Linked DNA regions of Homo sapiens: region 2 is linked to region 1. Evidence: promoter capture Hi-C in 16 types of primary human blood cells and fetal thymus (Javierre and others, 2016). All regions are on one chromosome and are shown on one strand. Each heading gives the region's core, a stretch centred on a gene start or on the middle of the fragment in contact. The rest is flanking DNA. Distances are from core to core; before and after follow the strand shown.

Region 1 (3,690 bases), core at 1,191-3,690:
AACTAAAAGCATCATGGATTTTAAGTTTGAAAAAATACTGTGATAATAGGTGATTTTAAAAATATATGTATTTCAAACCTTTCGTTTTGCAGAGGAGGAGACTGATGCCAAAGAGACAGAGTTAAAGCACCAGTTAATGACATTTCCTTGGCCTTGGTCTCAGAGAATTAGGAAGTACCAAGGAACCCAGGCCTGATTTCTGATTCTAATTAGAAGCAGGGTCAGTCCAGGAGGCCTGTGTTTATCTCTGCAGCAGAAGTTCACTGCATTCTCACTTCTTGCTCGTCCTAGATCTTCTCTGCTGAGTCTTCTGGTCACCTGCTATGTCACCTGCAGTCTGGAGAAGAGGTACTGTCAAGGTGTGGGGTGTGTTTTTCCCTGAGGAGTAACCTTGAACAGTGCACATTGTTTTTACCTTGAAATGAAATTTTAAAGATAAATTTATACATGGGACAGGAATGTTCTGATAACTTGCTGGATTTGTCCTCTAAGAAATTTTGCCCAAAAAGGGGATAGGAAAGGGAGAGGGTTCATTGCTTGGGCAGAAAAGATGTGCACAGGCAAGAATGATTGCATGAGAGTCAATGGTTATTGGTACGTATCAGAACCTTAGATTGGGTAGAATCTCTAAGGTTGTCAGAGCTGTTTGAAATGAGGGCGTATTAGATTCACCCTGGAGCATTGCCTCCCTGGTGGGAGGGAATCCTGGGTGGACAAAGAGAGTTTCTGCTGTGGCTGCCACACTCCACACCTCCCCTGCAGCAGGACACAATCCAGGGCAGCAAACTGGCCCATGGGGTCCGGAGGACCTATGCCAAGATCCATTTCCATCCCAACACCCTTGGATTGTCTCTCTCTGGGAGGGACTGCCAGAGAAGTTAGGGATCTGGAGCTTTGAAAACCACAGAGATATTTAAAATTACAATTTTAGAGAAAGATTTAAAATGATGAAGCACCAACTATTTTTGTTTACAGCCCCTCTTTGCAAATGTGGAGGAAACATGTAGGGATACACATCTTCTTCTCTCTTTTTTCACAAGATGATTCATTTCTCCTAAATTGAGAAATGAGAAAGACTGGGTGGAAGGAGGTTGTGGATTGACATGAAAGAGAAAACTTTTTTAATTCAGAAAAATAGTTCATGTGTTTTCACACACGTGTACATATGTGCATACACACACACACACACACACACACACACACATCCAATCCCCCTGAATATCCCAGTTTCCCCTGCACCTTCCTTGCCCCCCTCCCACTGGCTTCTTAGCCTCCTGTCCCAGAACAACCCCACCAGGCCTGCAGAGCCATCACTGAAAAGGGCATGGCTGTCCTCTAGACTGTAATCCTGAGTCCAGAGGTCTGGCCAAAGATTGGAGGAGCATCCAGGCCTTGACCCCCAGGCCTGCCAGTGTTCCAGGACATTTGCTCACTCATACCCACTCACAATCTTACGTGTACCCCGGTTCCCCGACTGAGAGAACTATGAGGAAGGAGGGGGCAGCTTTTGCCATCACTAAGGTAAAGAGGTGCCAGGCAGCTCTGCTCGGTCCCAGGGCTCACCAACCCTGCCATCATTCCCACCAGTGGACCCCTTCTTAACCACACCCAGGCCCCCATATTGCTGAGGCTATTGATTCCTACAGACCAGGCCAGAGGTCAGCTCAGTCCTGTTCCTTTCTAAGGCCTTTCCACACAGAGATGAAGTCTAGGCCCTCAATGCCCTTCCCCTGAACTCTTCTTCCAAGTTCAAAATCCTCAAGGAGCAAGAAAGAGGGCAGGTGGCTGCGTGTGTGTTCCAGAGGAGAGAGGCGAGGAGTTGCTGTGGAATGGGTTATGTGACAATTTTGTTAGCCTGACAATGCAAGGGTGTGAACGCTATCTGTGTAGAACAGAGGGAATGGCTTCAGGTGCTGCTCAGGATTCTTCCCTGGAAGAGGTCATAGCTGTGGTGAGAAGGTAATAGCATCTTGCCTACAGCCCCGAAAGCAGGCTCTACCTAAAGAATCAGGCATAAAACAGAAGTTCCCTCCTTCCTTTTACAAAAGAAAAGGCTGCTTCCTGGTGAGCAAACCAGGGGAGACAGGGGGCAAGGAGGGCATCCTACAGAGACCATCCCTCTCACTTCTGGTGGTCAGTGACCCAGGAGGACCCAGAGAACCTCATCCTCAGGCTCCTAGGCCTCTGTTCCCCACTCCTCCAATATTTCCAGGCCTGCTGAGTTAGGGCTCAGCTGCCTCCCTCTTCCCTCCGCTGGAAACAGAAGCTCCCAGCGAATGTTTCTAACTCCTGAGTCCACTCAGCCATGTCCCCCTTGCAAAATCCTCCCCTTCCCGCACCCCCCTGCACCCAGCCAGCCAATCCGCGGCCTACGAGCCTCGCCAGACCCATCTCCCAGGGCCTCAGCGGGATAAAACCGGTCGGTGATGCCGGGTGGATGGGAACAAACTTCAGAAGGAGGAGAGACACCGGGCCCAGGGCACCCTCGCGGGCGGACCCAAGCAGTGAGGGCCTGCAGCCGGCCGGCCAGGTATGTCACCCAGGGGTTAGCTGGAAGCTGGCTAGCAGTGAGGACGGGGGATGGAAGAAAGGAGAGGGTCCCAGGATGCCTGGCAGCCTTTTCCCTCCCAAGTTAAACGGGATAAGACTGGGACAGCGGAGGGAGTGGGCACGGAGGTTGGAGTCTGGAGCTTCTTCAGCGCACTCCCAATCCTTGATCCTCCCGGGAAGCCTGTTAGCTAGGCTAGGCTGAGGTTGGCCCTACTTCGCCTAAAAATCCTCCTACTCCTGGCAGACGATGCAGGTGTAAAGGATGAGGCCTGGGGAGGGGGCCTGAGGATGCAGGCATCGAATCTCATCGCATCTCATGCCCTTCTCCTGGGTTTGTGCAGGGCAGCGGCAGGCGCGGCCCGGACCTACGGGAGGAAGCCCCGAGCCCTCGGCGGGCTGCGAGCGACTCCCCGGCGATGCCTCACAACTCCATCAGATCTGGTAAGAACGCGGTGTGGTCAGGATCCCCGAGCCCCCGCGCCGCTGAGCGTCCGTGCGTGCGCTCGGGTGGTTGGATCTCGAGAGCGTCAGCACGGGATTCGCGGGACCCACCCGCGTGGGGACCCAGCTGGGGCGCCTGGGGCCTGGCCCTCCGCTGGAGCCGCCTCGCTGTTCTCGGGCACTGGGGTTCCACCCGGCCAGCTGAGCCGCCCTTGCCCGGTTTCGAGGGACCACATGGATCGGTGAGGGGATCTCTGTGGAGTTAGAGGGGGTTTCCTTTGAGCTCCATTCCCAGCCTTGCATGGCGCATTAGTGTGGACATTCTTCGTGCTCTGTCCCTGGGCTGCACCGGTGCTGGACTTGCCGTTTCCCCGTCCCCGACCTCTAAGTCCTCTTCCTCGGGTGCGCGCAGTCCTTCCCAGTGACTCCCCTGGCTGGACTGTGAGCTCCCCGCATCTCTCAAGCCAACGGCAATGGAGCCGGTGGTCCCGGGCCCGGGAGCCGGCAGCGCACTCAGGTGCTCTCCGACTCCTCCTGGCCCAGCACCGGGCAGGCCGGGCGCCGCGCGCGGGGCGTCCGGCTGGTGAGGACTAAGCCGCTCGCGGAGTCAAAACCCCCTCCCCACCTGCGCCCGGAAGCAGGGCCTTCAAACACACTCGAGCTCCCAGGCCGCGATGCCTGTTTTCCCCCTTCCCGGCC
Region 2 (3,904 bases), core at 316-2,815, 140 kb after region 1:
ACTGAATCTTTACTTTAAGGTGCTCAGGGGATGGTTAAAACATACACCTCTGGAAAGACCCCAGAGGCGCCATGCAGATCAGGGGTCTGGGCTACAGGTCCTCATGGAGTCTAGAAGAGGGGGTTATTGAGGGCTGGTATGGACCGTGCTCGATGTCTTCATGGAACAAATTGTCCAAGAGCCTCGCTTTGAGGAGATTTTTGTAGGAACTAGGGGGTGCAGATGGGGAGAGAGAGCACTTAGAAGTAGAGCATGGGGTGGTGAAAGGACAAATTTCAGAGTGTCCAAGGCCTATTTATGCTTTAGGACAGACTAGAATCCTTACCATTGCCTACTAGGTTAGCAAGATCTAGCCCCAGCCTAGCTCCCTGTGCTCCAACCACAGGCCTGAGTTGAAAGAAAACTAAACTCCTGTGACTTATAATAAATACTGCCAAGGAGGGAAGGCGAAGATGTCAGTGTGACTCCATTGTGGCCTAAGGAAGATGTGTCTTGACTCTACACACAGACATACTGATCTCTTGGCAGGAAGCCCCTTGGAGTGGAGGTGGAGCGCTCAGGTGGGGCAGCTTGAGGTCCCTGGTCACTAAGATCTTTCCTCTGCTCTGACTCCAAGCAAATCAAGTTTCCTGAGTCATCTGACTGTGTCAACTGTCCCTGGGAAAGAATGCAGGCATAGCTGGCCCCTGAACAGATCCATTCCCCACTGTAGTGAGTGCCTGGGTATTTTATCTATCTCTTTTACGAGTTCTGTCCACTACCCACCAACACACAAAAGTACGCATTTCCCTTGTAGGCACGCCGTTGGGATTCCTGTGCTGAGTTCCAACATGTGGGTGTGTTCCCCCGGCCGAGGAGGGAAGTGTTAATTCCACACACCAGTCAATCATACAGGTAAAAGGTCTGCAACAGATAACAGGATGACAGGAAGTGGACTTTAAAGCAGGCACAGAAGACTTAGAATTTCTCGGGTGTCACCCCTTGGAGACTAGACATTGGCAATAGGCAACATTTGGATACTTGTCAGGAGTCAGGCCCCACCTCAGCTTGATTGATAGGTGAATGAAAATAAATTTTTCCTTAGAGTGAAACACCTAGAGAGTCTTGAAAAACCAGACCTTCACTAATTTGAGAGCATGAACCAAACTGATTATTTGCCTTGTCAAGATTCTTTCCAGGCCGGGTGTGGTGGCTCACACGGTAATGCTAGAACTTTGGGAGGCTGAGGCGGGCGGATTGCTTGAGTCTGGGAGTTGGACACCAGCCTGGGCAAAATGGTGAAACCCCGTTTCTATTTAAAAAAAAAAAAACAAAAACACTTTCCAGAGCAGTCAGGTGTGTACAAAATGCTGACCCCTGGTGGATATTTCCTGAACTACTCTTTTAGCTCCACATGAAGGAGACCCAGAGGCAAGACGTCAAAGCTAATCTTCCCTGTTTTTAAGCTTTCTCAGGTTTAAAGCTAAGAACCCAATAGATGAGTTTCATTGTCTCCAGAAACTTTTATGGAGAGAACTGGGCTGAATATCAAGCATGTTGAGATTTGCTGTTGTGGCTAGGGATTTCATAGTTATGTGAAGAGAAAACAAAAACTTATTTGGTTTCCCCAAGATTTGCAAGAATTTTACCCCAATTTGACACCCCCTGTTGAAGGCCAATTTATGTTCCCCCCAGAATGAAGCTTGAAATGTGTTTTAGCCAGCCTGTGATTGAGAAAATAGAAAATCTTCTACCTTCAACCCAAATTAACATGTAGTCAAAATGTACTGCTGATGCGGTAAGTGGCCTTTCTTTGAAGTTAAAGACCATCTCCCTCCATTGTATTGACAGACACTACCAGGGCCAGGTGGGAGAGCTGGGAGGACTTGACCTCAGGGTCCCTGACTTAGGAGCTATGTGGTCCACAGGGCCTCAGCCCTGGCATCATGATGTCCTTGTCCCACACCCAGATCAAGTGAATCAGAACCTCTGGATGGAGGAGGTAGGCCACTTTTGGTAAAAAGCTCCTGCAGGTCAGCCTGATGAAGACACATATCTAGTTCAATTCCCTCCTTTTATGAAAACTGAGGCCTAGGGAGGAGAGGTTGCTTGGCCAAGGGCCCCCCAGGGAGTCTGTAGGAAAACTCTGACTCACCAATGAAAGACCTGAATTCAGCCTTGAATTTTCAAACAGTTGTCCTTGATTCTGTAGTGTTGTAGTAGATCAGGCCCAGAAGTGACGGAAGAAGCCACAATCCTCTTGAGGCTTGCTTGTCTTCCCTCTCTGTGCTTTTCTCTCCCATCTCAGCCCCTCCACCTCCCAGTCACCTGTGCACCGCCTCCCAGTTGAACAAAAGCCTCACTTAAGCATGAACCCCAGGCCTGGCTTTCCTAATCCATGGCCCCTGCCTTGTGCTATATAAAGTGCTGGCCCCTTGATTATTAATTTCCTCACCGCAGGCTGAGACCAGACCTGGAATACCCCACCAAGCCAAACTCAAATGTTTGCACATCCACTTGCTTTAAACATAGCCCCAATAAGCCTATGGTAATCCATTTAGAACCTGCCTGCTCTGTATACTCCATGAAACTGTATCCAATATCTGCTGGCCAAGGATAAGCCCCAAGCCATAAAGGCCTCAAGCCACTGCAGCCCATAGGAGCTCTCTGACCCAGAGATTCCCTGCTGTGCTGCTGGGTGACTTCACCTGGCCATGTAAGCCCCCTTTCCAATTCTCTTCTTTCCTAGGAGTCCTCTTGCCCTCCTTCCCCTCTGAGTAGGACCCCATCTCCACACTATAGCCTCCTTGACCAATTCCTGCTATAAAGGACCTTCCCCAGTGTAAACCTGTTAAAGCATCAACCCGAAAGCCTATGTGTGCTACCGCCACCTCGTGGTCATATCTTTTTTCTTAACCTCCAAATATCTGAAAAATCCTTCACTCTGGGCCTTTTCCCTCTTCTAAGCTTCCTTCAAAATATTCCTGATCCAAGTCCCCAGTCTTCTCAAATTTGCTGACCTGTCGAATAAATTAATCCATATTGATATATCAGTGGCCAATTCATTTATTCACTGGCCAGATATTCACTTAGCACCCAGTATATCGCAAGCAATGGCCTTGGCACTTGAGATACACTGTAGAACAAAACAGACAAAAATATCTGCATGGGTTGAGCTGACATTCTAGCAGCACGATGATGATTTAAAGTTTTTCCTCTTAGGAATATTTTATGGAACACTTTAAACCAAAGTAAGGAAGTGTTTTGTTTTTTTGTTTGTTTGAGACAGGGTCTCACTATCACCCAGGCTGGGATGCAGTGGCATGATCTCAGCTCACCGCAACTGTCACCTTCCAGGTTTGAGTGATTCTCATGCCTCAGCCTCCCAAGTAGCTGGGATTACAGGCATGTACCACCATGCCTGGCTAATTTTTTGGCATTTTCAGTAGAGACAGGGTTTTGCCATGTTGGTCAGGCTGGTCTTGAACTCCTGGCCTCAAGTGCTCTGCCCACCTCAGCCTCCCAAAGTGCTGGGATTACAGGCGTGAACCACCATGCCCAGCTAAAGTGTTAAGAGGGGAGTTTTTGGTGTCATCAATGGGCTAGTGTGATAGAGAGTAAGGAGATGGGCTAGGTTTATAAGTAGGAGAATCCCTTTATGCTAGTGCGTATGCCAAAACTTATGCATTGTGCGATTTATGCTTTTTATTTTATCTTATTTCTTTCTTTATTTTGAGACAGAGTTTTGCTCTTGTTGCCCAGGTTGGAGTGCAATGGTGTGATCTCGGCTCACTGCAACCTCCACCTCCCAGGTTCAAGTGATTCTCCTGCCTCAGCCTCCTGAGTAGCTAGGATTACAGGTATGCGCCACCATGCCCAGCTAATTTTATATTTTTAATAGAGATGAGGTTTCACCATGTTGGTC

Evidence for each region. Contacts are between HindIII fragments. The CHiCAGO score rates a contact against its expected background, and 5 or more counts as called.
Region 2: a contact is called between a fragment that was not itself captured here and the fragment with the promoter of PAX8 in region 1, in 5 of 17 cell types (M1 macrophages, M2 macrophages, M0 macrophages and 2 more). The highest score is 7.2, in M1 macrophages.

What each region holds. Positions count from the first base shown.
Region 1 is chr2:113,277,671-113,281,360 of GRCh38, reverse strand. It overlaps PAX8 (paired box 8), which reads left to right and starts at 2,440. Exons shown (of 12, transcript NM_003466.4): 1 at 2,440-2,530; 2 at 2,892-2,991. The coding sequence starts at 2,967. RefSeq lists a promoter at 1,838-2,967. The HindIII fragment of the contact is 9,772 bases long and covers 1-3,690 here.
Region 2 is chr2:113,136,030-113,139,933 of GRCh38, reverse strand. No RefSeq gene overlaps it. Among named protein-coding and RNA genes, the nearest start is that of IL1RN, 10 kb to the right of the region's middle. The HindIII fragment of the contact is 236 bases long and covers 1,448-1,683 here.